7 separate regions of the Homo sapiens genome follow, and all the other regions are linked to region 6. Evidence: promoter capture Hi-C in 16 types of primary human blood cells and fetal thymus (Javierre and others, 2016). All regions are on one chromosome and are shown on one strand. The core of a region is centred on a gene start or on the middle of the fragment in contact, and the rest is flanking DNA. Distances in the headings are between cores, read along the strand shown. Region 1 overlaps CDIP1 (cell death inducing p53 target 1). Region 2 overlaps HMOX2 (heme oxygenase 2). Region 3 has its middle 15 kb from the start of NMRAL1. Region 4 overlaps HMOX2 (heme oxygenase 2). Region 5 overlaps CORO7-PAM16 (CORO7-PAM16 readthrough). Region 6 holds the start of GLYR1 (glyoxylate reductase 1 homolog). Region 7 overlaps DNAJA3 (DnaJ heat shock protein family (Hsp40) member A3).

Region 1 (3,946 bases), core at 1,018-3,517, 320 kb after region 6:
TTACAGGCGGATGCCATCATGCCCAGCTAATTTTTGTATTTTTTGTACAAACAGAGTTTCACCATGTTGGCCAGCCTGGTCTTGAACTTCTGCCCTCGTGATCCGCCCACCTCTGCCTCCCAAAGTGCCGTAATTACAGGCATGAGCCACCGTGCCTGGCTAGGCTGGTGTCTTATTTCCGCTGAGACTCATCATGGTCGAGGAGGAGCATGTAGGGTTGGGTGGGAGGAGAGCTGGCAGATGGGAAAACCAGATCTGTTTTCTGGTCCTTTCTGTGACTTAAGTTGAGCTTGTTTTGAAGTGTTTAGAATTCCCAAGGCATCAGATACACCCATCTTCAAGTGTAAAAATAAATAAATGGTTCAGAGCCACCCGCGATGTTATCTGAGGGAGGGACTGTCTCGTCCTGCCTCCATCAGGACAATGGGAAATGGGCCATGTTCAGGATTTTCCAGGCCTGCCTGTGCTAGAACTTGGCAGCCGAGGACAACGGTCCCAGAGAAGGGGACACATTGGCAACCTCCCTGAGTCTTGGGAGGGCTCAGCCTCACTAGAGGCTGCTCTGCAACTGAGTGGACCTTTGTGGAGGGCCTCCTCTTTCCTGCTCATCACCCAGCGTTGGGAATAGGGTCCCTCTGGTCAGCTGCGAAAGGCCACAGGGAATCCTGGCCTGGTCCCACATGGACTTGGGTGGCTGGATTAGCCCCAGGTTTGGATAGGGCATGGTGGAGAGGGGAGTGGAGAGGGTTTGGGGCCCAGGAGCAGTCTCACAGCAGGGGCTCCCTTTTGAGCACCTCCTCACTTGGAGCACTTCCTTCATGTCCCTGTGCTGGGCACCTGCATCCAAACAGTGCATGCTCTATTAACGTTCACTGCACGCCATCGTCCTCCTCAGCTCCTCCTTGAGCCAGTGCTCATGCTGAAATGAGCACTGGAGTTGCAGAAGAATGTGTCCTCGCTCCAAGGCAACCAGCTGCACTTCTCTCGGGGCCTGTTTTAACTACGGAAGCATCTGCTCCAGCCTTCCCGCCAGGGAGTATTCCCCATGCCTTGGCCTCTGTACTGGCTGAGGCTGTGTCATGTGACCTAAAGAAAGCCATGATCCTTTTGATCATGGATCACTTGAAGAGAACTTGTGTTCCTTCAGACCTAAGGAACTGTAGAGATATATTTTTGTGGTGGAGGGGGGATAGAGTCTCACTCTGTTGCCCAGGCTAGAGTGCATTGGCGTGACATAGCTCTTTGTAGCCTAGAATCCCTGGGCTAGAACAATCCTCCCGCCTCAGCCTCCCAAGTAGCTGGGACCACAGGTGTCTATCACCATACCTGGCTAATTTTATTTTTTTGTAGAGATGGGATCTTGTTATGTTGCCCAGGCTGGTCTTGAACTCCTAGCTTTAAGCAGTCCTCCCACCTTGGCATCCAAAGTGCTGGAATTACAGGTGTGAGCCACTGCACCTGTCTGTGCTGTATATTTGTAATGACACTTGTTAATACTTAACCTGAAAATAATTTACCAATAATTAACCAGTAAACCAAGTTTTATTACTCATGTGGAAGATGTGGGAGGTGGTCAGTTAGTTGCTGGTGTGGTGTCCCATGGCTGTCCTAGGCACTGGCCTCCATCCCAAGGCCCTCATGGTGAAGCACAGCTACTGGAGCCATGGCATCTATCTTCCAGGTGGTAGATGGGAGGAAGGCAGGAAAGATGAAGGGCCTGGCTCCGGGCTGAGTCGGCTTGCCCTGAATGCCTTCTTATGGTCTGGACACTTCTGCTTACAGCTCATTAGCCAAAGCTTTGTCACTCTAAGAAAGCTCGGGGACCCTCTTGGTTGATGGACTTGCCCTGAGTGAAAGTGGAGTTCTGTATTCAAGAATGGGGGAGAGAGTGGATTTGGGTGCAGCTGGCAATCTCCAGTCTGTACTTCATTAGGCGGAACATTGCTGTTTGAGATCTTGTTATTCTGCCTTCTTCCTTTGCAGTGTGATGTGGAGGAGCACAGCACAGCTCTGTATGGGTGGTGGTATCTGCGTAGTAATTCATGGAAGGCGTCTCCAGCAATACAGCCTGGACATCTACATGTGGGATTTTGTTCAGCCTTCCAAGAACCTCATTTTGCACGTGGGGAAACTGAGGCTCAGAGAGGTTGAGGAATTTGTCTAGGGCTGCAGGCCATCAGCGGCGAGGCAGGGTCCCAGGGAGACCTGTGCTCTCCCAATATTCTATTGACAGTCAAGCAAAGAAGACCGCTGTCTTTGTTTCCAAGTGCCACAATGCAACAAGGCTGAATGGTGCCGGAGGTCTCCTGGGGAAGCCTAAAGCCTGAGGAGAAGGGCCTGGGACACTGTCCAGCTGGCCTTGTCATCCTTGTCCTGGAGATCTGAGGTATTTGAGCTCTGGAACAAACCCTGTGGCTGGGTCGCTGTGAGGGCCCCAGGCTGCCATCTGGCCACCCTCAGGGGCACATCCCTCCTTCCTTAGGCCTTGTGTACTCACTGTTCCCTCTGCTGTCCCCATCCCTCCCTTTGCCTGCTGGTCTCATTAACTCTTCCGCCACCTCCTCCCAGGTTTGCTTGAAGAGATGGTGTTAGAGCTCCAGAACGGCGATCTTGCTGTCCTTCTACTGTGCCCTGGACTTTCTCGATACCACTGGTCACAGATGTAATTGTGTTTGTGGTTTTTTGGCGAGGGGGGTGATTATTTAACGCTCATCCTCTTCACTTGACCGTAAGCTTCTGGAAGGCAGGGACATGTCTTTTTTTTTCTTTCTTTGAGATGGAGTCCCGCTCTGTCGCCAGGTTAGAGTGCAGTGGCGCGATCTTGGCTCACTACAACCTCCGCCTCCTGGGTTCAAGTGATTCTCCTACCTCAGCCTCCTAAGTAGCTGGGATTACAGGCACGTGCCACCACGCCCAGCTAATCTTTGTATTTTTAGTAGAGACGGGGTTTCACCGTGTTGGCCAGGATGGTCTCGATCTCTGGACCTCGTAATCCGCCCTCCTCAGCCTCCCAAAGTGCTGGGATTACAGGCGTGAGCCACTGCGCCCAGCCAGGGACGTGTCTTTAATCCCCAGCCTGTATCTGGCACGGAGGATGTGCTGAGTAACTATCAGAAGGAAGCACCATCCCCCGCCCTCCCCTTAGAGGGCCTCTGTTACGTGGTCACCTCACAGACTGTGCTTCAGCCCAGCCCTGGGGTGCTTGGGAGAATAGGCGGAACAGCTACGTGGTCAGCGGCCATCCCTTGCAAGTAACAGTCCCCCTCCTAATGACCCTCACGCTGCATGGCCCGTTACAGTGGTTCAGTAAGTTTTTATATCCATGCCTTACTTAATTCTCACACCGCCCTCCAAGGTGGGTTTGAACTAATCCGTCTGTGTGTTGGATGGAGATGTCACAGGATGGAAAGGCCTAGTGTGGGCCAAGCCTCCCTGGAAGGGTCCCCTTCAGGCCTGCACCCTTGGTGGGGATTCTGTGCTCTCCTTTTCCCGCTGCCCTGTCCCTGCAGGGTGCTGCTATCTGGACTGAGAGCATCTTCCCTGAGGCCCACGTGAGCTCCTGCTTGCTTCTGGCTCACTTCTTGCTTTGGCCTTTTCCTCCAGACCTGGTTTGGGCCTTGCCATTCTCTTTTCAGACCCAAGAAGCACAGAGAGTGTTTGTCTTTTACCTCGGCTCTGCCCCTCATGGAGCAGTGGGCACCTCCTTTATTCAGCACATGGAAGCTGCAGGCAAGGCAGAAATCGGCCTTTCAGTTTTCCCAGCAAAGCAGAAAGCCCTGTTCCTGGCTGGATGCCTGGGACCTGCCTCCTGGGGACAGAGGAGCCCCTCTGAGGCCAGCTGGCGTCCTGACGCCATGGCTGCCACGTGGGTAAGCACCTCCTGGGGATGCAGCACCAAGCCAGCCCAGCTCTGAGAAATGTGTCTGGGCAGCAGCTGCTGCAGAGC
Region 2 (3,731 bases), core at 1,218-3,717, 360 kb after region 6:
TTTTAGATTTTGTTTTATGGTCTCTGAAAGCCTGATTGGTAGCATAACACTGTGTTACTTGCCCCCTCCTTATATAAAGAAATGTATACCAGCCTGGGCAACAAGGCAAAAACCCTGTCTCTACAAAAAAACTACAAAAATTAGCTGGGCGTGGTGGCACATGCCTGTCATCCCAGCTACTCAGGAGTCCTAGGCAGGAGGATTGCTTGAGCCCACAATGGTGGAGGTTGTACTGAGCCAAAAACACACCACTGCACTCCAGCCTGGGTGACAGAGTGAGATCCTGTCTCAAAAAAAAAAAAAAAAAGAAATGTACAGGCACATTTTTAACAGTCATGGTAGCAAATGCTTGCCAGCCTTCTCCACTCAACGCATACACAAACCACTGACTCCTTGATGTCTACATCTGTGAAAAAATATCCAATGTCCCCCAAGTTGTCCTTAGAGTCTGGGTTTCATAGCAGCAGCAAGGTCTCTTCATGTTGTTCTCTAGGGAAGGGGTCAGCCACAAAAAGGCAATAGTTATACAACTTTGTAACAAACCCACATCCTGTATCTATGTACATTTTAGAGGAAACACCAAGGCCTTAGGTTATCATTATTGCAAAGGAAAATGCTACAGTTATCATAATTTACTGAAAAAAAAATAAAAAATCCCAGCAGTTTGCTGTAAAACTGTGTAACTTCCTGTCACAATCTTCTCCAATGGGGCAGCACCCACAACTATACACATTAAAGTGAAGTTTAATGTCCAAGAGTTTAATTCCTTTAATTCCCAAGAGTTCCCAGAACTGGTCAAACATCATTATCTCCATTAATCATTATTCAGAGGAAATTCAAATAGCCCAGAACATCAACTACTGACTGAGGACATGATTAGGCAACAATGAATGAATAGCTTTAGAAAAAAGCAGACATAATGGAAAAGGCAACTGTCCAACAGCTCAGGCATTCTCCAGGGCTGTGAGAGGTATACTCAAGCCTGTTTTTTTTTTTTTTTTTTTTGAGATGGAGTTTCCCTCTCGTTGCAGCGAAACAATGGAGTGCAATGGCACGGTCTGAGCTCACTGCAACCTCTGCCTCCCGGGTTCAAGTGATTCTCCTGCCTCAGCCTCCTGAGTAGCTAGGATTACAGGCATGCAAAACCACACCCGGCTACATTTTTTTTTTTTTTTTTTTTTGAGACAGAGTTTCGCTCTTGTTGCCAAGGCTGGCATGCAATGGCGTGATCTCCCCTCGCCGCAACCTCCGCCTCCCGGGTTCAAGCAGTTCTCCTGCCTCTGCCTCCCGAGTAGCTGGGATTACAGGCATATGCCACCGCGCCCGGCTAATTTTTTTTTTTTTTGAGACGGAGTCTCGCTCTGTCTCCCAGGCTGGTGTTCTCAGCTCACTGCAACCTCCGCCTCCCGGGTTCACGCCATTCTCCCACCTCAGCCTCCCAAGGAGCTGGGACTACAGGCGCCAGCCACCACGCCCAGCTAATTTTTTGTATTTTTAGTGGAGACGGGGTTTCGCCATTCACAGGATGGTCTCGATCTCCTGACCTTGTGATCCACCCGCCTCGGCCTCCCAACGTGCTGGGATTACAGGTGTGAGCCACTGCGCCCAGCAATTTTATATTTTTAGTAGACATGGGGTTTCTCCATGTTGGTCAGGCTGGTCTCAAACTCCCAACCTCAGGTGATCCGCCCGCCTCGGCCTCCCAAAGTGCCGGGATTACAGGTATGAGCCGCTGGGCTACGCCTGGCTAATTTTGTAGTTTTAGAGGTCAGGCTGGTCTCAAACTCCTGATCTCAGGTGATCCGCCCACCTAGGCTTCCCAAAGTGCTGGGATTACAGGCCTGAGCCACTGTGCCCAACTTCTTTTTTTTTTTTGAGACAGGGTCTTGCTGTGTTGCTCAAGCTGAAGTGCACTGGGTCAATCAGAGCTCACTGCAGCCTCAACTCCTGGGCTCAGGTGATACTTCCAACTTAGCCTCTCGAGCAGCTGAGACTACAGGCATTCACTACCATGTCTAGCTAATTTTAAAAATTTTTTTGTAGAGACAGGGTCTCACTATGTTGCCCAGGTTGGTCTCGAACTCCTGGGCTCAAGCAATCTTTCTTTGGCCTCCCAAAGTACTGGGATTACAGGCGTGGGCCACCACGCCCAGCCTCAAGCCCTTTTTCAAACAAAACCCTACACAAATGGCCAATACAAAAAGGAAATAAGTGAGCTTCCATACTTAAAATGAGGAGGGAAAGAGAAAGGGGGCCAAAAGGGACTGAGCTCAGCTCCTCATTCCCCTCAGGACCTTGAGCTTGGCCTAGTTTGCTCAGCTGTGGTCTAGGAGACATAAGATATTCAATTAAACATTTGCTGGCTACCATTTCCCACTACCTGTGCTAAGTGACCAGTGGCTCTGGGCACGGTCTCTTATCTTAGGCCTGTATGTCCAAATCAACAGTGGGAAGCTGGGCCTGGATTAGCCACTGTTCCCAGACCTGACCTGCCCAGAGTTTTCTGGCAGCTAGGCCAGAGCTCCCTCTACTCTTTCACATATCATTTCCAGTTGCCCACTAGTTCCTTGAAAAGTTCGTGACCTTCCAAAAAACCATGTAGTTTCTGTGTCTTCAACTCACCTCATCCCCAGCATTGGTACTGAGCTCTAACCCTGTATTAGGGACAGACATACTCTAATCAGCTGTCCTTGACAGACCTTGAGCTTCAAACACTTCTGCCTCACCCACACTAGCCAGTTAAGTTGCTGTGGCCTCAGCAGTCCTCTCCTAGGAACCAGATTAGACCACTGCCTACACATGGGGACACGCTGTCCTTTGGACAAGTACTCAGGCAAGTCCCTTGACAGTTGGTGTTTGGTAAAAGGCTGTTTGTTTACAAAGGAATGTCCTAGGGTTTCTGTCTTTAATCTACTCAAATACTTCCTTTTTTGAACACAATTTGTGTTTGAAGACACAAATTAAGAGATGTGTACTTTTGAAGATGGGAAGAAAGGGTACTTGTCAGAACAATCCTTATCCTTTTTTGGTTGCAAATCCCTTTCAGAATCAGAGCAAGGCTTCAGATTCTCTCTCCAGGACAATCGTATGGTTTAAAAATGTTGCCTGTGGCCAGGCATGGTGGCTCAAGCCTGTAATCCCAGCACTTTGGGAGGCTGAGGTGGGTGGATCACCTGAGGTCAGGAGTTCGAGACCAGCCTGGCCAACATGGTGAAACCTTGTCTCTACTAAAAATGCAAAAATTAGCCGGGCGTGGTGGCAGGTGCCTTAATCCCAGCTACCTGGGAGGCAGAGGTAGGAGAATTGTTTGAACCCGGGAGGCAGAGGTTGCAGTGAGCCGAGATCAAGCCATTGCACTCAAGCCTGGGGGACAAGAGCGAGACTTCTCTCAAAAACAAAAACAAAAATAAAAACAAAAACAAAAACAAAAAAATCAATCCCTGTTCTAAAAGGAGTCTATCAGTGACATTCTCTTTTTATGGGTAAAGTTTTCAGTAAGACCCTGAGTGCTCTAAGAAGGGTTTCTTCTTTCTTTGGCCTCCTTCCTTCTCTTCCCTTCCTCCTCTGTCCTAATGGGTTCAGTACAAGTTCTCCCATTTTCTCCATTTCTCCACTCTTTAACTTCCCTGGCCTCTCAAAACTCTCATAAACCTTACAAAGTGATTTTACTGTTTTGTGTCTTCCCACAGTTACTACCAGCTCCTAGTAAACAAAGACTATGCTTGGTTTGT
Region 3 (4,217 bases), core at 117-2,616, 390 kb after region 6:
TGTGAAGTGGCCTGTTCTGACCTCAGCTAGCAGAACAGCTCTGACCAGCAGCCTCTGTTCCCACATTTGAAATTCATTCACAGACGGGGACATAGCACAGGACACAGAGGAGCCCCAGGAGCCGAGCTTCTGACACACCCCTTTCATCTCCAGAGCTAGTGAGGCCATCTGCACATGTGAACTGGAGACAGGCTCTGCAGGGAGGCGGGGGAGATATGGGCTTCTCCCTTTCTCTCCTCATCCTTGTCCTGGAAGGAGCCGGCCTTGGGGTACCATCCTGGACACAGGTGAACTTCAAACAGGTTGGAAAAAGGAAAATCGGATGTGGCAGAGCTGTGGTCCACAACGCACAGTAATTGGACACTGCTGGGAAGCAAAACTGAAGGAGAAACAACCCACCTTGCTTGCTGGGGTGGGTCACAGAGAAGAGGGTCAGAGGCCGAGAGACCAGTTATTTGCCTGAGAGTTTGTGGTCCATGGCAGCTCCGATTTTTTTTTTTTTTTTTTTTTTTGAGACGGAGTCTCCCTCTGTCACCCAGGCTGGGGTGCAGTGGCACGATCCCAGCTCACTGCAGCCTCCACCTCCTGGGTTCAAGTGATTCTCCTGCCTCAGCCTCCCGAGTAGCTGGGATTACAAGCATGCACCATCACGTCCAGCTAATTTTTGTATTTTTAGTAGAGACGGGGTTTCACCATATTGTCCAGGATGGTCTCGATCTCTTGACCTCGTGATCCGCCCGCCTCGGCCTTCCAAAGTGTTGGGATTACAGGCATAAGCCACCGCGCCTGGCCAATTTTTTTTTTTTTTTTTTTTTTTTTTAAAGAGTCAAGGTCTCGCTCTGTTGCCCAGGCTGGAGTGCAGTGGCACAGTCATAGCTCACTGCAGCCTTCACCTCCCAGGCTTAAGTGATCCTTCCACCTCAACCTCCTGAGTAGCTGGGATTATCGTACAGGTATGAGCCACTGAGCCCAGCAGTTCTGTGAATTTCAATTCAACACATTTAGGTTTGTGTGACTACCATCACAGTTTTTATTTTTTTACTTCCCCACCCTGGCTCTGGCACCCCCAGGCACAAAAATTCATTCTATCCATTGACTGAAGCATTTCTTTGACAATTTACCAGTATGCTGGGCCCTAAATACAATGTAGCAAAAAAAGTTATGCTGCCTGCCTTGAGGAGCTTATATTTAGTGGGAGAGCCTGATAGAAACACACAATAAATAGTTATGTATCTACGCCTGTAATTCCGGCACTTTGGGACGCTGAGGTGGAGGATGGCTTGAGTTCAGGAGTTCGAGACCAGCCTGGGCAACATAGCAAGACCCCATCTCTACCTAAAAAAAAGAAATACAAAAGAAACTAGGGCCAGGCGTGGTGGCTCATGCCTGTAATCCCAGCACTTTGGGAGGCCAAGGCAGGTGGATCAGTTGAGGTTGGGAGTTCGAAACCAACTTGGTCAACATGGCAAAACCCTGTCTCTACCAAAAAATACAAAAATTAGCTGGGCGTGGTGGCGTGTGCCGGCAGCTACTCAGGAGGCTGAGGCAGGAGAATCAGCTGAACCCAGGAGGTGGAGGTTGTGGTGAGCCGAGATTGTACCACTGCACTCCAGCCTGGGCGACAGAGGGAGACTCTGCCTCAAAAACAAAAAAACAGAAGAAATGGTGGCAGGCGTGGTGGCATGTGCCTGTACTCCCAGCTACTCAGGAAGCTGTGGTAGGAGGATCACTTGAGCCCAGGAGGTCAAGGCTGTGGTGAGCTGTGATTGCACCACCACAAGCCAGCCAGGGCAACAGAGTGAAAGCCTGTCTCAAAAACAAAACAAAACCCAAAAAACAAATTGACATAAGGGCTGCAAAAAACAAAACAGGAAGGATAAATAAATGGGGACAGGAGCAGCATCGGGGGAGGTGACCAGTAAGCTAAGGTCTGTGGATCATGCCCTTGGCCATATAACTATGGACCCACTTCGCCTTTTATGTTCCCCCCTGGCCCATTTGTGACCCTTGAAGAGTCATGAGAAATAAGCAGAACTTCTAGTTAAAAGATAAGACCTGCACAGTATTTATTAACAAGCAAGAGTGTGAAACAAGCCTCTTCCAGGAGCCGTGCAGCTGCCGTCCTCCACATCAGAGCCGGCTCTGCAGTGCTACAAACACAGAGGGGCAGGGGCAGCTGGAGGCCTGTGGGCCTGGAGAGAATTCTTGCACACTGTTTGGTTGACAGGGAAGGAAACAAAGGCCAGGCCACCAGAACCCAAAGGACTATGAGTGAGGAGGGGGCTCAGGTTGGAAACAACCCAGTCCCAGGCCTGAGGTGGGAATGGGGCTGAGGACCAATGCCTGAGAGCTGGCCTTGTCCACCCTCCTAATGTTTTTTTTGAGATGGAGTCTCACCCTGTCACCCAGGCTGGAATCCAGTGGCGCAATCCTGGCTCACTGCAACCTCCACCTCCAGGGTTCAAGCGGATCTCCTGCCTCAGCCTGCCGAGTAGCTCGGATTACAGGCGCCCACCACCAAGTCTGGCTAATTTTTGTATTTTTAGTAGAGACAGGGTTTCACCATGTTGGCTAGGCTGGTCTTGAACTCGTGACCTCATGATCCGCCCACCTTGGCCTCCCAAAGTGCTGGGATTACAGGTGTGAGCCACCACGCCCGGCCCACCCTCCTAATGTTTAAGCAAGTGCCAAACATGTACCTCCCACAGGCTCACAGGCCTAGAAATACTTTATTTTCTTGAGACATGGTCTGGCTCTGTCACCTAGACTGGAGTGGAGTTGCATGATCACAGCTCACTGGAGCCTTGAACTCCTCAGCTCAAGCAATCCTGCCACCTCAAGATTTCTAAGTAGCTGGGACTACAGGTGCCAAGCCACCACTCCCAGCTAATTTTTTAGAATTTTTTTGTAGAGATGGGGGTCTCACTCTCTCGCTCCTGGGCTCACACATTCCTCCCTCCTTGGCCTCCTAAAGTGTTCAGATTACAGGCGTGAGCCACCATGCCTGGCCCTTTTCTTATATTTTTAAATACATACTACTACTCAGAAGCTATAAAGAAGTCTGGTAACAAATACATCAGGAGCACAAGTGGAAATAAACCAAACCCAGGCCCAGAAAGAGCACTGAATTCTACAGCTGTTGCACGGCCACCTTTTTTTTTTTGAGATGAAGTCTCGCACTGTCGCCCAGGCCGGAGTGCAATGGCATGATCTCCAATCACTGCAACCTCCACCTCCTGAGTTCAAGTGATTCTCCTGTCTCAGCCTCCTGAGAAGCTTGGATAACATGCATGTGCCACCACGCCTGGCTAATTTTTTTGTATTTTTATAGAGACGGGGTTTCACCATGTTGGCCAGGCTGGTCTTGAACTCCTAACCTCAGGTGATCCACCCGCCTCAGCCTCCCAAAGTGCTGGGATTATAGGTGTGAGCCACCTCGCCTGGTCATGCACAGCCACCTCTAATCCCTTGAGGGAAGGATGCTTCAACACAACAATGGTTTCTGTTTAGCAAGAAAATCCACCTTTCTCTTCCAAAGTCTTTCTCTAGACTTCTGCTTTGAAGCAATAGGACATGAATGAGACTCAGGGTGACTGTTCCAGGAATAAGCCCAAGCTTTCACAAGAGACACGGTCTAGCTCCCCACTGCTGTATCCCCAGGAACTAGAATAGGGCCTGGTCCATACTGAGTGTCCACAGTAGGCAGGCAATCAGTATTTCATTGATGAAAATACTGGGAAGTATCTGAGATGAGCAGAATGTCACTGCTGAGCCTCTCCTGTCCGTCAGCTCTTTCCCGAGTCTCTTCTCCACCTGACCCAGCAAACAGACTCTCATCTCACCCTGCTCAGCCCAGAGTGCCAGAGTGGACTGAGCTGTGTATCAGGGCCCCTCTAGCCACGCCAGGCATAGAGCGTGGCTGGGAACCCAGAGTAGCCAAACTATAATACATAAAAATTTTGGTCAGGCATGGTGGCTCACACCTGTAATCCCAGCACTTTGGGAGGCCGAGGTGGGCGGATCACCTGAGGTCAGAAGTTCAAGACCAGCCTGGCCAACATGGTGAAACCCCCCATCTCTACTAAAAATACAAAAATTAGCCAAGCGTGGTGGCATGCACCTGTAGTCCCAGCTACTCAGAAGCCTGAGACAGGAGAATCGCTTGAACCCAGGAGGCAGAGGTTGCAGTGAGCAGAGATGGTATCACTTCACTCCAG
Region 4 (3,925 bases), core at 1,394-3,893, 340 kb after region 6:
CAGGCTGGAGTACAGTGGGACGATCTCGGCTCACTGTAACCTCCGCCTCCCAGGTTCAAGTGACTCTCCCACCTCAGCCTCCCAAGTAGCTGGGAGTACAGGCACGCGCCACCACACCCGGCTAATTTTTGTATTCTTAGTAGAGACAGGGTTTCACCATGTTGGCCAGGCTGGTCTCAAACTCCTGGCCTCAAGTGATCCACCTGCCTCGGCCTCCCAAAGTGCTGGGATTACAGACATGAGCCACTGTACCCAGCCGAGAGCCAGAGCTTAACGTCAAGAAGGAATGGAGTGTGGAGAAAAGCCCAGCTTTTCCCTCAGAGTGGCTCCAGGGGCACTTTTCTCATGGGACCAAGGCCCCCACCCCAACCCCATATGACAGTCTGGAACCCAATGCGGGGCACAAACCTTAAACAGCTCCTTCTTAATGTTGCCTTTCAAGAAGTCCTTGACAAACTGGGTGTTTTCTGCCCGGTCGTGTGCTTCCTTGGTCCCTTCCTTCAGGAGCTCCGAGAGGTCAGCCATTCTGTGGAGAGATGGGAGGTGTTTGTGTGTCAATTAGCCCTTCCCAGCTTTCCAGAAAGGACCATAGAGAGAAGATTGAGTCCACACCCCAAGGTGACCACCTGTTGTACTGGAGGCTGGGGCTTCTCAGACACTTCACTCCAACACAAATAGCAGCAACTTGTCAGGGAACACAGGACAAGCAGACATGACATTCTGCTCCAAGGACTCAGGACACAAGGGATAACTGTGGCCTGCTCCTTGAGAGTAGTACCCACGTCCATGTGTCTGTGTTGGGAACCACCCAAATGAGCAATGCTTTGCTTCTGTGGCCACCTAGTGGTCGAAGAGACACACATCTGTATTCCCTTCAGTATTTGCTGGCTTCTCTAAGAACAGCCTGCCTTGGAACGTGTCTTCTGGAATTCACACACCTCAGTAAGGCTGTGACCATGGGTCTCCTCAGATGGCCCTACTGCCTTCCTCCCACCTTGGACCCACAGCTTCTTTGAGACTATATGTGACTAGGACCAAGCACGGAAGGATGCAAAGGAGACAACCGAGAGGCTAGGGCCAGGACGCTGGGTTTGTGCTGCTTAACGAAATTACACAGTTGTAAAGGTGTGTGGATGGATGGACAAGGTAGAAAACATGTGATCCTAAAGATGGTGGTACTTGGGCAGGGGCTTACATGTGTCCACACAATCCATCTACAAGAGTGAGAAAAATTTGGCCTTATCATGGTCTGGCTTCTGCTGTCTTCTTTAGGAGATTAGCTCGTTATCATCCATGTGCTGAGAATCAATTTATTATTAGCAATTATTTCAAGGGATAAAAAAAAAACTTGGCCAATGACAGGGCTATGAGAGGCTAATGATGCAGAACAGGGCCTGGAAGCTCAGGTTTAGCATGAGCTGTCCCTATACAGAGTAAGGAAAGGCTGCCCTGCAGTCTTTTATGTGGTAAAAGACTGAACAGAGCCAGCTTTGCCTGCGTTTACCCTTTCTCAGCCCAGATGAGGAAACGCACAAGTTTTTAAAAAGAAAAAAGGATAACTACCATCAAATCCTATCAGCACTCCCAGGAGCACCTGCCCTGCCTCCTTGGATGAGACAATGGACCAGTGGGGAGAGTTCTAAGCAGCCGAAGCTGTATGCGGTCCCTGCAGGGCCAAGCAGGCACCCAGGGGTCCAGAGCTCATGGCCCATGGCCACTCCCCAGTGCTGCCAACAGACAAAACCAGGTGTGCTGAGCACGACAGGTGCTGGGCCCACCTGATTCAGTGCAGCCAGCCCCCATCGCTCACCTCATTTGGTTCTCCTTTTCTAGGGCCCCAGAGTTCTTTTTTTCTGACTCGTCTACCCCCTCTGAGGTTTCCACTTCCGCTGACATTGCTGCTGGGTGTGGTTCTTGCTGCTCTCGCTCCTCTGGTCCTGCAGAGACACAAGGAGCTGGTGATGTGGCACCCACGGCAGTCACTTCCCCAAATACCTGTCGGTTCTGCTTTCCTCAGAGCGAATGTAACCAAGGTGACACCCACACACCCCAGGATTGTTTTCTTTAAAATAAAGCTCTGCCATTACTGGGACCATAGTGGAATATGGAAAAAATCTGAATATGAACAATGTATTAGGTAATAGCATTGTATTGACATTAAGCTTGCTGGTTTTTAAAAATAATTGTACTGCGATTATATAAGAGAATGTCTTTGTTCCTAAGAAATACACACTGGGGTATTCAGAAGTAAAGGTACACTGCCTGCAACTCCCTGTCAGATGGTTCAGAAGACAGTGTGTGTGCATGTGCATATGCTGCAGGGTGGGGGACACTGGCAAGTCAGAAAAGCAAACAAGGCAAAATCCTAGCAGTGAATCTGGGGAAGAGGTATGAGAGTTCTTTGTACTATTCTTACCATTTTTCTGTATGCTTAAAACTGTATCAAGGCAGGGCACAGTGGCTCATGCCTGTAATCCCAGCACTTTGGGAGGCCGAGGCAGACTGGAGTTTGAGACTAGCCTGGTTAACATGGTGAAACCCTGTCTCTACTAAAAATACAAAAAATAGCCGGGCATGGTGGTGCACACTTGTAATCCCAGCTACTCGGGAGGCTCAGGCAGGAGAATCTCTTGAGCCCAGGAGGCAGAGGTTGCAGTGAGCCGAGATCACGCCGTTGCACTCCAGCCTGGGCAACAAGAGCGAAACTGTCTTAAAAAAAAAAAAAAAAAAAAAAAAAAGACCGTATCAAAATTAAAAGTTAGGCCAGACACGGTGGCTCATGCCTGTAATCCCACCACTTTGGGAGGCCAAGGTGGGTGGATCACCTGAGGTTAGGAGTTTAAGACCAGCCTGACCAACATGGAGAAACCCTGTTTCTACTAAAAATGCAAAATTAGCCGGATGTGGTGGCGCGTGCCTGTAATCCCAGCTACTCAGGAGGCTGAGGCAGGAGAATCACTTGAACCTACGAAGCAGAAGTTGCAGTGAGCCAAGATCGCGCCACTGCACTCCAGCCTGGGCAATAAGAGTGAAACTCTGTCCAAAAAAAAAAAAAAAAAAAAAAAATTGAAAGTTACCAAAAACAAAGAAAACCTCAAAAACCTTAGGGAAACAAAAAGCTTGGCAAGCAACGCACAGTTCCACCCCTCTGCAAGCGTGCTGAGGCCAGTTCATCCTACCTGTGAGAGGCTGGGTGCCTTGTGCAGAAGGCAGCCTACAGGAGTTACCAAAAAAGCAGACTGTCCCTAGCCTACTCAGGACTTTGCTAGGCTGAAGGAAATATTAAGTTGGCCAATCAATTCCCATTGCCTGCTGCAAATGCTGAGCCTTTGTCAGCCAGGGAAACACAGTCCCATAACAAGGCAAGCTCATCCTCCATCCCTCGGGGCTTCTGCTCAGGCAATGTAAGGCGCAGCCCATTTGGGGAATCTTCCACATGAATAGCAGCACAGTAGCACCGACAACTAATAAAGTAACTCACAAAGACAGAACTGGGGCCAAATCAGGCCAAACTGGGCCAAGGAAAAAGAACTTATTTACTGAGCATTTTCTATGTGCTCTACCCAGAAACAGGTGTCAAGAAGAACACAGAAGTGTTAAGAAATGGTCCTTAAAAGGCCCAAGGCACATATCCTTCCTGAGTTTTCTCTAGATACCTAGTTACATTTTTGTTATCTTTTAGGATATTATAGTACATGGTTTGCTCACTGAGGTCTTTTTGAACCATCTCTCTCACCTTTAGATTTAGCATCTCTACTGGGATTATTTTAGGAAGTCAAGCAATAACTCATATAGCACAATGCCTACCATGTGATAAGCACTCAATGAATGTTACATCATGATCATACTTTATTTTGACTGAGGCTTAGTGATGTCTGAGAACACTCAGAAAATAAACATCGGGATGTACAGAAAAATGGAACCT
Region 5 (3,849 bases), core at 1,350-3,849, 500 kb after region 6:
CCGCCTAGTTCTGGACCTGCCGCTGTTTGTCCATGTGGTGTTAATGGGCATTGCCTCCTGAGGGCCTTACTGTCCTCTTGTGAGGAGGGTGTTATTCTCTCCATCTTGCAGTTAAGAAAACTGAGGTAGGCTGGGCACAGTAGCTCACACCTGTAATCCTAGCACTTTGGGAAGCCGAGGAGGGCAGTTCATGCGAACCTAGGAGTTCAAGACCAGCCTGGGCAACATGGCGAAACCCCATCTCTCCAGAAAAGTACATTTAGCCAAATGTGGTGGCGTGTGCTCAGCCTCCAGAAGTTATGAAATTTCCACCTACTTGTGAAATCCTAACCCACTTGTGTTTGTTCATTCCCCTAATGGCCCATATCACATCCCGCCTGTTAAGGAAAGAGCAGGTCCTCGGAGGCTGAGTACAAGTAGCTCCAGCTACTCGGGAGGCTTAAGCAGGAGAATCTCTTGAGGCTGGGAGGCTGAGGCTGCAAGTGAGCCATGATTGCACCACTGCACTCCAGCCTGGACGACAGAGTTAGACTCTGCTTCCAAAAAAAAGGCCAGGTGTGGTGTCTCATGCCTGTAATCCCAGCACTTTGGGAGGCCGAGGCGGGTGGATCACCTGAGGTCAGGAGTTTGAGACCAGCCTGACCAACATGGTGAAACCTCGTCTCTATTAAAAATACAAAATTAGCTAGGCTTGGTTGTGTTCACCTGTAATCCCAGTTACTTGGGAGGGTGAGGCAGGAGGATCGTTTGAACTGGTGAGGTGGAGGTTGCAATGAGCCGAGATTGAACCACTGCACTCTAGCCTGGGTGACAGAGCGAGAGTCAGTCTCAAAAAAATAAATAAAAAATAAAAGACCCAAACCAAAACAAAAAAAGATTCAGAGAGGTTGAGTAATTTGTCCAGGGTCACACAGCTATTGAGAAAGAAAGCTAGGGTTCTGGTCCCAGGTCAACGTGGTTCTCGTTCTGCTTCCTTGCTGCTTCCCAGCTCCCTGAGGGAATGTAGTATGGTGTTTTGCAGCCTTCACCCCTGAGGAAGCAAAGGGCCTGTATCAAATGAGCTGCTATTTTGAAAGAAGCTTTGTTACTTCATAGTGCCTGGTCATTGTCAGATTTTGTGAAACAGTAGTAATGAATGAAAACCAATGTTTATTGAGCACCTGCTGTACCATTAGGCTGTGTGCCAGGCATTTGACAGGCATTATCTCAGCTTTATTGGTGGCCACATTTTACAGGTAAGCAAACTGGGTTGCTCAAAGGAGTTGAGAACGTGTCTATGTCAGATAGCTGGGATTTTTGCACACAGGTGATCCCAAAGCCTGCAGGTGTAACCATTACACTACACTGCGTCTTCTCAGAGATGCCTCCTATAGGAACCTTGCTGGCCTCAATGGGCCGTCCAGTCTGCTGAAACTTTGCAGGCCAGCCCCCCTCTGCCCTGCAGCTCTAGGCAGCTGAAGCCACAGGCCACCACGCCGCTTTGGTTTGAAGTGTGCAGGGGATGGTCGGGGAAGCTCCCCAGTTATGACCTCAGCTCTTACCGTTCATTATTTTGCAACAGTCATTGGCCTTGGCAGAAAAGTAAACAAGTGATTGCAAGGCTGTACGATGGCAGCAGAGGGACCGAAGGCTGTTGGTGTGAGGGGTAGTCTGAGACCTGAGCCGTGTTTCAAGCCGAGGGGACCCTCTGACTTTCACCTCTGTCCTTCAGACAGCACCAGCATCCCATCCCTGAGCCTCCTGTTCCACTCGGGAGGGGCTTTAGGAAGGAGGCGAAGTCAGGTGAGACCGCAGGTGTCATCAGGTGCATCCCTGACCCTCCCTCATCTGCAGTACAGCCACAGCCCTGCCCCTCGCTGTGATCACAGGAGGGTCTTCTCTGGGCTCTTTCTGCTGTGAAATCCAGAAGTTATGAAGTTTCCACCTACTTTTGAAATCTTAACCCACTTGTTTGTTCATTCCCCTAATGGCCCATAATGACATCCCACCTGTTAAGGAAAGAGCAGGTCCTCGGAGGCTGAACAAGGCCAGCTCTGGAGTCGAATCCACTGGAATCTGGAGCAAGCCCCTCTGGCCTCGGGGTTGGGTTCTTGATACTTGTCGGCTTGCCCAGGTGCCCTACCTTCAGACCCCGGGACCCTGCGTAGTGACTGCTGTGACAGATAGCACCAGCCTTGGGTTTCCGATCTGCCTCCGAGGCACCTGCTGTTACGTCCTCGGGCCAGTCAGCAGTCCCCCACCCCTGAGTTGTCAGAATTAAACGGCACAATGAATTGAACGTGTTTGGCACCGTGCCTGGTGTGTGGACTCAGTTGATACTTGTTGACTGAAGGCAAATCTACAGAAAAGCACTAGGAAGAAAGGGAAAGTCACTCGGCTGTGCCACATGAGCTTTCAACCTATGCCGAGCTGCCTCCAGCCCGCGCCACCCCCCTGCGTCTACGGCTTTGCAGTCACAAGATCCTTTGTATGTGCTGTCTATATATAATCGCTTTGTTTCACAAAGATCTGTGCATCTTTCCATGTCATCCGCCAGATTCCCAGTCTTTCCCAGGCCAGCCTAGGCTATTGGCTGCTCGCAGGAACTCCCTTCTGCCTTCTCTCCTGCCAGTTTTGGCTCAACCCAGTCCCTCTGCCTAGAAAGCCCTAGTATTTCCATCATGATTCTTCCTACCCTGCAAAGCCCAGCCCAGGAGGAACCCCCTCCTCTCACGGAACCCCCTCCTCTCACAGAACCCCCTCCTCTCACACAATCCCCTCCTCTCACACAATCCCCTCCTCTCACAGAACCCCCTCCTCTCACGGAACCCCCTCCTCTCACAGAACCCCCTCCTCTCACGGAACCCCCTCCTCTCACGGAACCCCCTTCTCTCACGGAACCCCCTCCTCTCACAGAACCCCCTCCTCTCACGGAACCCCCTCCTCTCACGGAACCCCCTCCTCTCACAGAACCCCCCCTCACACAATCCCCTCCTCTCACGGAACCCCCTCCTCTCACAGAACCCCCTCCTCTCACGGAACCCCCTCCTCTCACACAGTCCCCTTCTCTCACAGAACCCCCTCCTCTCACAGAACCCCCTCCTCTCACAGAACCCCCTCCTCTCACACAGTCCCCTCCTCTCAGAGAACCCCCTCCTGTCACACAGTCCCCTCCTCTCACAGAACCCCCTCCTCTCACACAGAACCCCCTCCTCTCACACAGAACCCCCTCTTCTCACACAGAACCCCCTCCTCTCACGGAACCCCCTCCTCTCACAGAACCCCCTCCTCTCACACAGAACCCCCTCCTCTCACAGAACCCCCTCCTCTCACGGAACCCCCTCCTCTCACGGAACCCCCTCCTCTCACGGAACGCCCTCCTCTCACACAGAACCCCCTCCTCTCACCGAATCCCATCTCAGTCTTGAGTTTTCCCTCGACTCTGTTGCTTCCGCTCACATCTTAGTGAGTCCCCAGGGCCTCTGCGGGGCATGGAATCACACGTGCAGTGTTCCGGCATGTTCAGCCTGGTGTGTGACAGTGGGGTTCCCTGCCAGGCCAGCAGTGTGCTCTGACTCGGGGCAGGGACCAGGTTCTGTGTAGCTTTGTGCTCAAGTGCTGAGCAGAGTAGACTCTCAGCAGATGTTTGAATGAATGGGTGAACCAATGGCTGCACAAATGAACGAGCCTGACTCTCCCTCATGATTTGGTCCATAGTGTGTTTAAATACCCTCCTAGTGGGCTTTTAGCTCCTTGAAGATGGAAACAGGTTTGCATAGTAAGTTTGTTTTATTGAATGGAATGGACTTAAAGTCTTCGGACTTGGGAGAATTAGGACAGATCTGTTTCCCCGTTGGTAAAGTAAAGGTT
Region 6 (4,081 bases), core at 839-3,338:
TTAATGGGTTTTTTGGTTTTTGTTTTTGTTTTCAAAATAGGCAGACCTATCATCCACGGAAATGAGAATTCTGTCTTCCCTTTTCCAAAAATTGCATTTCTTATTTTTGTTTCCTGTCTTACTGCACTGGCTAGAACTTTCAGGTTTTAGGCAATATATTCTTATTATCTAATAGTGGTAGAAATGTACCATGTTTCTGATGTTAAGGGGAATGCCTCTAGGTTTTGGTGCAATGTTCATTTGAGATTTTTTTTTCTTTTTTCTTTTTGGCGGGGGGACGAGTCTCGCTCGCTCTGTCGCCTAGCTGGAGTGCAGTGACATAATCTCGGCTCACGGCAACCTCCGCTTCCCGGGTTAAGCGATTCTCCTGCCTCAGCCTCCCAAGTAGCTGGGACTACAGGCATGCGCCACCACGCCCGGCTAATTTTGTATTTTTAGTAGAGTACTGGGTTTGACCGTGTTGGCCAGGCTGGTCTCGAACTCCTGATCTCAGGTGGTCCACCCGCCTCGGCATCCCAAAATGCTGGGATTACAGGCTTATACCACCCTGCCCGGCCAAGATTCATGTTTTTATTTAAGTTATTAAAATCTCATTCAATTCCTCACAAATTCAGAATTTTTAAACAGGAACTTATGTTAAATTTTTATCAAATTATTCCCTGGAATCTTAAATACGCTTTAAAGATCACTTTGTCTTAAAAATACACACGCAGTAAATGACAGTCCGTGCAGCTAATTCTTGGTACTTCAGGGAAACTGATCTCCCAAGAAAAATCAGGCTGCGGGACGACCCAGTACGCTAAACACCGACTTGCAACCGAAATCTCTAACCACCACAATGCCTTGGGGAAATGCGTGTCGACTCGCCACCTTTGCCAGCTGGCAGTGACTCAACAAGAGCCCGACACCAAGTCTAAGTCAATCCTTAACACTGTGGAGTCTGTGATCGGGACTGGGATCTTTTGCAAAATTGTGATTCTACCTGGTCTGCTGAAGTTTGGGCCGACGCTGCGCTCAACTGCAGTTAACACTTCCCAGTTCATGGTTCAGTTTTAAAGTGTCCAAACTACGCCCGGCATCTGTCTTCCTGTTGTCACAACTTTTTCAAAAGTGCAAAACTAGGGCAAGGCTAACGAGAGAGCCCGGACCCGACAACGACACGCACCTTTGTCCCCAGCGCCGACGCGGGCCGCAGACGTCCCCCCGCGGCGGTCCTCATGCCGGTCCCCGGGCGGCGGCGCAGCTAGCGGTCGGCTGCTAAGCCGTGGCTCCCAGCGGGCGGGCGGCCCGCGCCTCGGCCCATGGCCGGGTCCCCGAGCCCAGGGGAGCCTGGTGTGCCGCGCCGCGCGCCGGCCCAGGAGGAAGCGAAGAAATGCCAACTCGACGTCCGCGCAGCCACTCCGGGGACACCAGGGGGTCGGGGGAGCAGCCTCCGGTCGCCCCAGGAGAACTTGCGGCGCGGGACCCCGCGCTCAGACGGCGCCTCCGAAAGCGGCCGTCGGGAGGAGCGCTCCAAAGAACACGGGCGGCGGGAGCGGACGGGCGCGGACACCGGGGCCTCCCGGCCTGCGGCCAAGCAGAGTTGCCGGGCGCGGGAGCCCAGACCCGGCGGAGGCTGAGTTCCAGGCCGCGCCGAGCTCCGTCAGGGTAGCTCACTGGCGCTGCGACGGGGCCGACCAGCGCCTCGGGCTCGGGAATGGCCCCGGGGCCCGCGCCGGACCAACGGGCGTAACGGAAGCGCCGAGAGGGGAGGGGCGCGGAGTCCAAGACCCGGGGGCGGGGCGAGCCGCGAGGCCGGCTCCCTCTCGCGCTCAGCCGGTCGCACCGTCGCCGCCGCCGCCGCCTCAGACCGCGGGCGCTTCGTTGTCACGAGCCGAAGGGAGGGGGAAGGAGCCGGGAGTCTCTGCGCTCCGGCGCGCGGAGACCGCGGCGCTCGCGTCACGTGCCCCTCGGTCGACCAATGATCCCCGGCGGGCGCGGTGACGTCAGAGTAGCGGCGTGGCCAGTGACAGCCGGCCCCCGTCACGTGGTCGGGCCCACTCCAATGGGCGGCGCCGGGGCGACTTGCTGTTCCCGGCGGCCCGTGCGTCGGCGGTGGTTGGGTGGTAAGATGGCGGCTGTGAGTCTGCGGCTCGGCGACTTGGTGTGGTGAGTCCGAGCGGCCGGGCCAACCGAGACGCGCCGGGGAGCTACCCGCCTGGGCGCGGGGTTCGCTGCCGGCCCTGGAGCTGCCTTTTTATGCGCTCCAGGTCGCGGAGAGAGGGGAAGAGAAGGTGCCGGCGCTTGCGAGCGGCGCCAGGCGGAAGGGGCAGTCCAGTCCCGGGGGACCGAGGCCGAGGGTGGCCACGTCGGGCACCGGCTTTGATCCCCGAGGCCGGCCGGGTGGGGTCTGCACTCGGGGCCCAGATACTGGCGGCCCCCGTGAAGGGAGCCGCCGGTGCCGCGAGGCTTCCCCGGACGACCGGTCCCCGGGGTCTTGTTGGGGCTTCCCAGAAAGCAGAAGCGCCGGGGACCGGACCTGCGAGATCTGGCCGGTGCCATTCGGTCAAAGCCCAGGTTGCGATGCAGCCGACCTGTGCGGCCGGCTCAGCCGGGGTTGTCTAAACCGGACTGCTGGCGTTGCCCCGCGAAGAAACGGCGGGGGGACTTCTCCTTTACAACCGATGGCTTGGCAGTGACCAGTGCACGCTTGGGTGCCTCCCGCGGTCTGCTTCTGTGTCCCAGACAACCGCCCGAACCAAGACTTTGTCGCCGCCTCCCTCGAGCTGCGTAGCTTGTTTCTCCACCCAGAGGAAGGCTTCCATTAGCATTTGTCAAAGCCAGGCAGGTCTCCTGTTGAATTAAACCAGACTTAGGGAGGGAAAGTCTGTGTTTACAGAGGAAGCTGTCCTCCCACCCCCGTCATTAAGAAGCTCTAGACAAGTGACTTTTGACAGTTGTGTTGTTCTGTATTCCTTGTCAACAGAAGAATGGATATGCGTTGTGCACATAAGTATACAATTTTGCATTTTACTTCTGAGGGTGTTGGGCCCAGCTATGAAAGCTTTTGTTTCGGCATTTGAGGATGCCAGCAGAGATTTAGGAAAATAAATTGCGTATTGAGTGGGTTGAAGGAGATGGACTGGCTTTTGCAGGGCAAGTGTTGACTCTTTGTGTTTTCTCTAGGGGGAAACTCGGCCGATATCCTCCTTGGCCAGGAAAGGTGAGTGTCTTGCTACTAAAGGAAGAGATCTGAAGTTGGGTTTGAAGAGGTGGAGAATGTAAGATGCATTCCTCTCAGTTTCTAGTATTGAGTTAAATTGGGCTCATTCAGATGGCACTTAGAATTTTTTTTCCCCTAGTATCGGTTATTTTTTAAAAGGCAATGCAGTATACACCAGATCATTAAATCTTCTCTAAACCCTTATTTCTGGATTTAGAGGAGGTTTATGAAGTTTCTTTTTTAACCCCGGAAATAATTCTAGTCTGAATTTAGCTTTATGCTTAAATGTAACAAAAGGAGAAGAAAATATAAATTATCCAGGAAGAAAGTCTAAATGTAGGTTAGTGAAAAGCCAAAGTATTTTTGTCCCAACTAAGTTTAAATCTTCTTTCCATGTTACCATATGTGCTACTCCAGTGCCTCTTTGCAGAAGTTGGCATTCCAGATTTTGCATGAGGTGATCCATCATTGCTTTCCAAATGTTGTGTTTTTATATTCTTGCTTGGAGCCCGGGAGGTGTCTTTAGATGGTCTCTTTGCAATATGGTGTTTTCTGTGCCTCGGTTGTCCTTTGTTTTCACTATGTCCTGTGTCAACCCTTCCTGCACAGGAAGTATTTCAAAGAGTGTCGTCTGCATTTTTTCAGTAATAATGGGGTCACATTGGAGCAGGGGTGGGGTGGTGGGGGGCAGGGGATGCTGTTGATCTTAGTTTTAACTGCTTGTAAAACAGGGCCACTGCAGTAAAAGGGATATTGTGTCTACTGAGCACTGTGCTACATGTTAAATATTGGGAACTTCTAGAATATCTACACATTTCCATACACCTCAATAGAAAAATGGGAGATTTAGACAAGTACTAGGCCTTGGGTTCTGTTTTG
Region 7 (4,134 bases), core at 443-2,942, 420 kb after region 6:
TGGCAGCTGTGGCTTCAACATTACGGGCAGAGAACACGGACAGGAGTTAGTACAGAGATAGTAACGCACAAAACTGCATGTGGATAAAGACAAATCACGTTTAATTACAAGACTGATGGCTTTGTTTTTTCTTTTTTTGAGACAGAGTCTCACTCTGTCACCCAGGCTGGAGTGCAGTGGTGTGATCTCGGTTCACTGCAACCTCCATCTCCCAGGTTCGAGCGATTCTTCTGCTTTAGCCTCTCAAGTAGCCAGGACTATAGGCGCACACCACCACACCTGGCTAATTTTTGTATTTTTAGTAGGTAAGAAGTTTCACCATGTTGGCCAGGCTGGTCTCGAACTCCTGACCTCAAGTGATCCGCCGGCCTCATCCTACCAAAGTGCTGGGGTTACAGGCATGAGCCACCATCCCCAGTCTGATGACTTTTGACATTATCCATAGGGCATCAATGATTAACAATAATTAGATTTCATTTAATAGACTATTTATTTTATCACATATGACCAGTAAATGTCCTGTCCTTTTTAGAACAACCCAGAATAAAATAAGCCTCCAAGTCGTTCTAAGAATGGCCAACCCACTGTCCAACAACTGCTTTCTTTTTTTTTTTTTTTGACAGGGAGTTTGGCTCTTGTTGCCCAGGCTGGAGGGCAGTGGCGCGATCTCGGCTCACTGCAACCTCTGCCTCCTGGGTTCAAGCGATTCTCCTGTCTCAGCCTCCCGAGTAGCTGGGATTACAGGAACCCGCCACCACGCCTGACCAACTTTTTCTATTTTTAGTAGAGACAAGCTTTGGCCATCTTGGCCAGGCTGGTCTCAAACTCCTGACCTCAGGCGATCAACCCACCTCCCAAAGTAATGGGATTGCAGGCATGAGCCACCATACCTGGCCACCAACAACTGCTTTCTTTCTGCTTGGAAGAAAAGTCACATCTAAAATGTTGTTATGTCATCTTACTACTAGATTTGAGACAAGATCACAGACTAGTGTTTGGACGCTGAGTTAATGACCTTTTCAAAATTTTTTTTTTTAAGAGACAGGGGTCTCATTATGTTGCCTAGGCCAAATTCAAATTCCTGGACTCCAGCAATCCTCCCACCTCAACCTCCTGAGTAGCTAGGACTATAGAGGCTCGCCACCACATGGCTTCTCAGTTGATGACTTTATTAATTTTTTGGTAGAGAAAGAGTCATACTCTGTTGCCCAGGCTGGAGTGCAGTGGCATCATCATGGCTCACTGCAGCCTCAACCTTCTGGGCTCAAGTGAAACTCCCACCTCAGCCTCCCAAGCAGCTGGGAGTACAGGCAGTTGCCACCATAGTTGGCTAATTTTTTTTTTTTTGAGACACAGTTTCGCTCTTGTTGATCAGGCTGGAGTGCAATGGCGCTAACTCGGCTCACGGCAACCTCCGACTTTCACGTTCAAGCAATTCTCCTGCCCCAGCCTCCCGAGTACCCGGGTTTACAGGCATGCGCCACCAGGCCTGGCTAATTTTGTATTTTTTGTAGAGACGGGGTTTCTCCATGTTGATCAGGCTGGTCTCAAACTCCTGACTTCAGGTGATCCGCCCGCATAGGCCTCCCAAAGTGCTGGGATTACAGGCGTGAGCCACCATGTCCGGCCACAGTCAGCTAATTTTTAAAAATCTTTTTGTAGGCCGGGCGCGGTGACTCACACCTGTAATCCCAGCACTTTAGGAGGCTGAGGTGGACAGATCATGGGTAAAGAGATCGAGACCATCCTGGCCAATATGGTGAAATCCAGTATCTGCTAAAAATACAAAAATTAACTGGGAGTGGTGGCACGTGCCTGTAGTCCCAGCTACTCAGGAGACTGAGGCAAGAGGATCACTTGAACCCAGGAAGCGGAGGATGCGGTGAGCCGAGATCACGGTGAGTCAAGATCATGGTGAGCCGAGATCGCACCACTGCACTCCAGCCTGGCTACAGAGCAAGACTCCGTCTCAAACAAACAAACAAAAAAAATCTTGGCCGGGCGCGGTGGCTCACACCTGTAATCCCAGCACTTTGGGAGGCGGAGGCGGGTGGATCACGAGGTCAGGAGATCGAGACGTCCTGGCTAACACAGTGAAACTCCATCTCTACTAAAAATACAAAAAATTAGCTGGGCGCGGTTGCAGGTGCCTGTAGTCCCAGCTACTCGGGAGGCTGAGGCAGGAGAATGGCCTGAACCCGGGAGGCGGAGTTTGCAGTGAGCCGAGATCGTGCCACTGCACTCCAGCCTGGGCGACAGAGTGAGACTCCGTCTCAAAAAAAAAAAAAAAAAAAAAAAATCTTTTTGTAGAGATGGGATCTGCCTATGTTGCCCAGGCTGGTCCCAAACTGCTAGGCTCATGTGATCCTCCTGCCTCAGCGCCAGCATAGCGCTGGAATTACAGTCGTGAGCCACCCCGCCCAACCAGTTGATGACTCTATCTGTGAAAACAGCACGTACCCTGAAGGATGCCACCTCTCACCTGTGTACACTACCTGATATAAAACTTGCCCATGGCAGGTTATGAGCTCACTTGGGGAACAAGACAGCTAACCGCAGTTCCTTAGTCACAGCTTCACACAAAGCTTAGTGTTTAGTGCCTGTTTCTCTCTTTCACATACACAATAATAACGAGTGCTCCCAAATTTGTACAGCTGGAACATGAACAAATTTGGCTTAATAAAACAAGTCACCTAAGGATTAATATTTGAATGAAAAGATGCAGCCAGATTCTATTTAAAACAACCTTGACATTAGAAAATGTTAGCAAGCTCTAAAAATGGCCACTTTTGCTCATGTTGAAAAATCTAGCCTGGCATGGTGGCACACACCTATAAGCCCAGCATCTTGGGAGGCTGAAGTGAGCCAGGATCACATCACTGCAATTTGGCCTGGGCAACAGAGCAAGAGTCCATCTCAAAATAAAAATAAGGCCGGTCGCGGTGGCTCAAGCCTGTAATTCCAGCACTTTGGGAGGCTGAGGCGGGTGGATCACAAGTTCAGGAGATCGAGACCATCTTGGCTAACACGGTGAAACCCTGTCTCTACTAAAAATACAAAAAATTAGCTGGGCGTGGTGGCGGGCGCCTGTAGTCCCAGCTACTCAGAAGGCTGAGGCAGGAGAATGGCGTGAACCCGGGAGGCGGAGCTTGCAGTGAGCTGAGATAGCGCCACTGCACTCCAGCCTGGGCAACACAGCGAGACTCCGTCTCAAAAAAAAAAAAAATTCATTCTGTTGGCCAGGTGCAGTGGCTGATGCCTGTAACCCCAGCACTTTGGGAAGCTGAAGCAAGGGAATCACTTTAGCCCAGCCTGGGTAACATGGTGAAACCCCATCTACAGAAAACTAGCTGGGTGTGGTGGTGCATGCCTGTAGTCCCAGCTACTCAGGAGGCTGAGGATGGAGGATCGATTGAACCTGGGAGGTCAAGGTTGCACTGAGTTGTAATTGTGCCTCTGCACCAGTCTGGGCAACAGGAGGCCCTGTCTTAAAAAATAATTAAATACATAAATAATCATTCTCTTAACCAAACACACATCCAATCTCTTTGTTCTCTGCCATCTCCTCAGTGCCCAGAACAGTGGCTGGCATACAATTGGCCTCAATTAACACCTGTGAATGAATGAATTTTCAGACAGGTGCTCGAAGGGGTTAAATAATACACCCCGCTCACAGACGCTGGGGAAGTTCACCCCTGAAGCCCAGGCTCTTTTCTTTACATTGCATGAAGTAACCACAATTACTGATACTTTAATGATTGTCTACTATGTAACTATTACAAACTGGATTGCAACAGGAAGTTAGTTGGTATAAATTATCTTGTCAGGGCCCTTTAATTAATCTTTATAAATTTATAGATAGCTTAAATACCATTTGCACAAATTCTAGAGGACACAAAACTAGCACAATTCAGGTACGTACAACACACAGCACAAAACACACGGCATAAGAAAAGAAGGCTAAGCAGGGCACGGTGGTTCACGCCTGTAATCCCAGCACTTTGGGAAGCCAAGGGGAGGCGGATCACCTGAGGTCTGGAGTTTGAGACCAGCCTGGCCAACATGGCGAAATCCCGTCTCTATTAAAGATACAAAAATTGGCCAGGCGTGGTGGCGCATGCCTCTAGTTCCAGC

The links. The method cuts DNA at HindIII sites, captures the fragments that hold promoters and counts their contacts. A CHiCAGO score of 5 or more calls a contact.
Region 1: a contact is called between a fragment that was not itself captured here and the fragment with the promoter of GLYR1 in region 6, in 3 of 17 cell types (endothelial precursors, M2 macrophages and megakaryocytes). The highest score is 6.3, in endothelial precursors.
Region 2: a contact is called between a fragment that was not itself captured here and the fragment with the promoter of GLYR1 in region 6, in 3 of 17 cell types (neutrophils, erythroblasts and fetal thymus). The highest score is 8.3, in neutrophils.
Region 3: a contact is called between a fragment that was not itself captured here and the fragment with the promoter of GLYR1 in region 6, in 1 of 17 cell types (erythroblasts). The highest score is 5.3, in erythroblasts.
Region 4: a fragment that was not itself captured here is called in contact with the fragment with the promoter of GLYR1 in region 6 in 1 of 17 cell types (erythroblasts); the score reaches 5.8 in erythroblasts.
Region 5: a contact is called between a fragment that was not itself captured here and the fragment with the promoter of GLYR1 in region 6, in 4 of 17 cell types (neutrophils, monocytes, total B cells and 1 more). The highest score is 11.0, in neutrophils.
Region 7: a fragment that was not itself captured here is called in contact with the fragment with the promoter of GLYR1 in region 6 in 7 of 17 cell types (neutrophils, fetal thymus, total B cells and 4 more); the score reaches 9.8 in neutrophils.

What each region holds. Positions count from the first base shown.
Region 1 is chr16:4,522,340-4,526,285 of GRCh38, reverse strand. All of the region lies in intron 1 of CDIP1 (cell death inducing p53 target 1), which reads left to right. Among named protein-coding and RNA genes, the nearest start is that of CDIP1, 14 kb to the left of the region's middle. RefSeq lists an enhancer at 3,514-3,946. The HindIII fragment of the contact is 937 bases long and covers 1,799-2,735 here.
Region 2 is chr16:4,485,402-4,489,132 of GRCh38, reverse strand. The region is part of intron 1 of HMOX2 (heme oxygenase 2); the gene reads right to left. The region is part of intron 1 of LOC124903636 (a long non-coding RNA gene); the gene reads left to right. Among named protein-coding and RNA genes, the nearest start is that of HMOX2, 11 kb to the right of the region's middle. The HindIII fragment of the contact is 7,136 bases long and covers 1-3,731 here.
Region 3 is chr16:4,457,171-4,461,387 of GRCh38, reverse strand. No RefSeq gene overlaps it. Among named protein-coding and RNA genes, the nearest start is that of NMRAL1, 15 kb to the left of the region's middle. RefSeq lists a silencer at 1,653-1,853. The HindIII fragment of the contact is 3,824 bases long and covers 1-3,278 here.
Region 4 is chr16:4,503,496-4,507,420 of GRCh38, reverse strand. It overlaps HMOX2 (heme oxygenase 2), which reads right to left. Exons shown (of 6, transcript NM_002134.4): 2 at 1,811-1,937; 3 at 409-526. The coding sequence starts at 1,896. Among named protein-coding and RNA genes, the nearest start is that of HMOX2, 29 kb to the right of the region's middle. The HindIII fragment of the contact is 957 bases long and covers 2,165-3,121 here.
Region 5 is chr16:4,343,719-4,347,567 of GRCh38, reverse strand. The region is part of intron 27 of CORO7-PAM16 (CORO7-PAM16 readthrough); the gene reads left to right. The region is part of intron 1 of PAM16 (presequence translocase associated motor 16); the gene reads left to right. Among named protein-coding and RNA genes, the nearest start is that of PAM16, 5.7 kb to the left of the region's middle. RefSeq lists an enhancer at 1-219 and a silencer at 2,434-2,634. The HindIII fragment of the contact is 3,035 bases long and covers 1,082-3,849 here.
Region 6 is chr16:4,845,295-4,849,375 of GRCh38, reverse strand. GLYR1 (glyoxylate reductase 1 homolog) reads left to right here and starts at 2,088. Exons shown (of 16, transcript NM_032569.4): 1 at 2,088-2,148; 2 at 3,166-3,202. The coding sequence starts at 2,111. UBN1 (ubinuclein 1) reads right to left here and starts at 1,895. Exons shown (of 18, transcript NM_001079514.3): 1 at 1,166-1,895. RefSeq lists silencers at 1,215-1,304, 1,315-2,034 and enhancers at 1,087-1,929, 2,225-2,284, 2,585-2,644. The HindIII fragment of the contact is 6,120 bases long and covers 1-3,045 here.
Region 7 is chr16:4,427,048-4,431,181 of GRCh38, reverse strand. All of the region lies in intron 1 of DNAJA3 (DnaJ heat shock protein family (Hsp40) member A3), which reads right to left. Among named protein-coding and RNA genes, the nearest start is that of DNAJA3, 3.2 kb to the right of the region's middle. The HindIII fragment of the contact is 1,791 bases long and covers 797-2,587 here.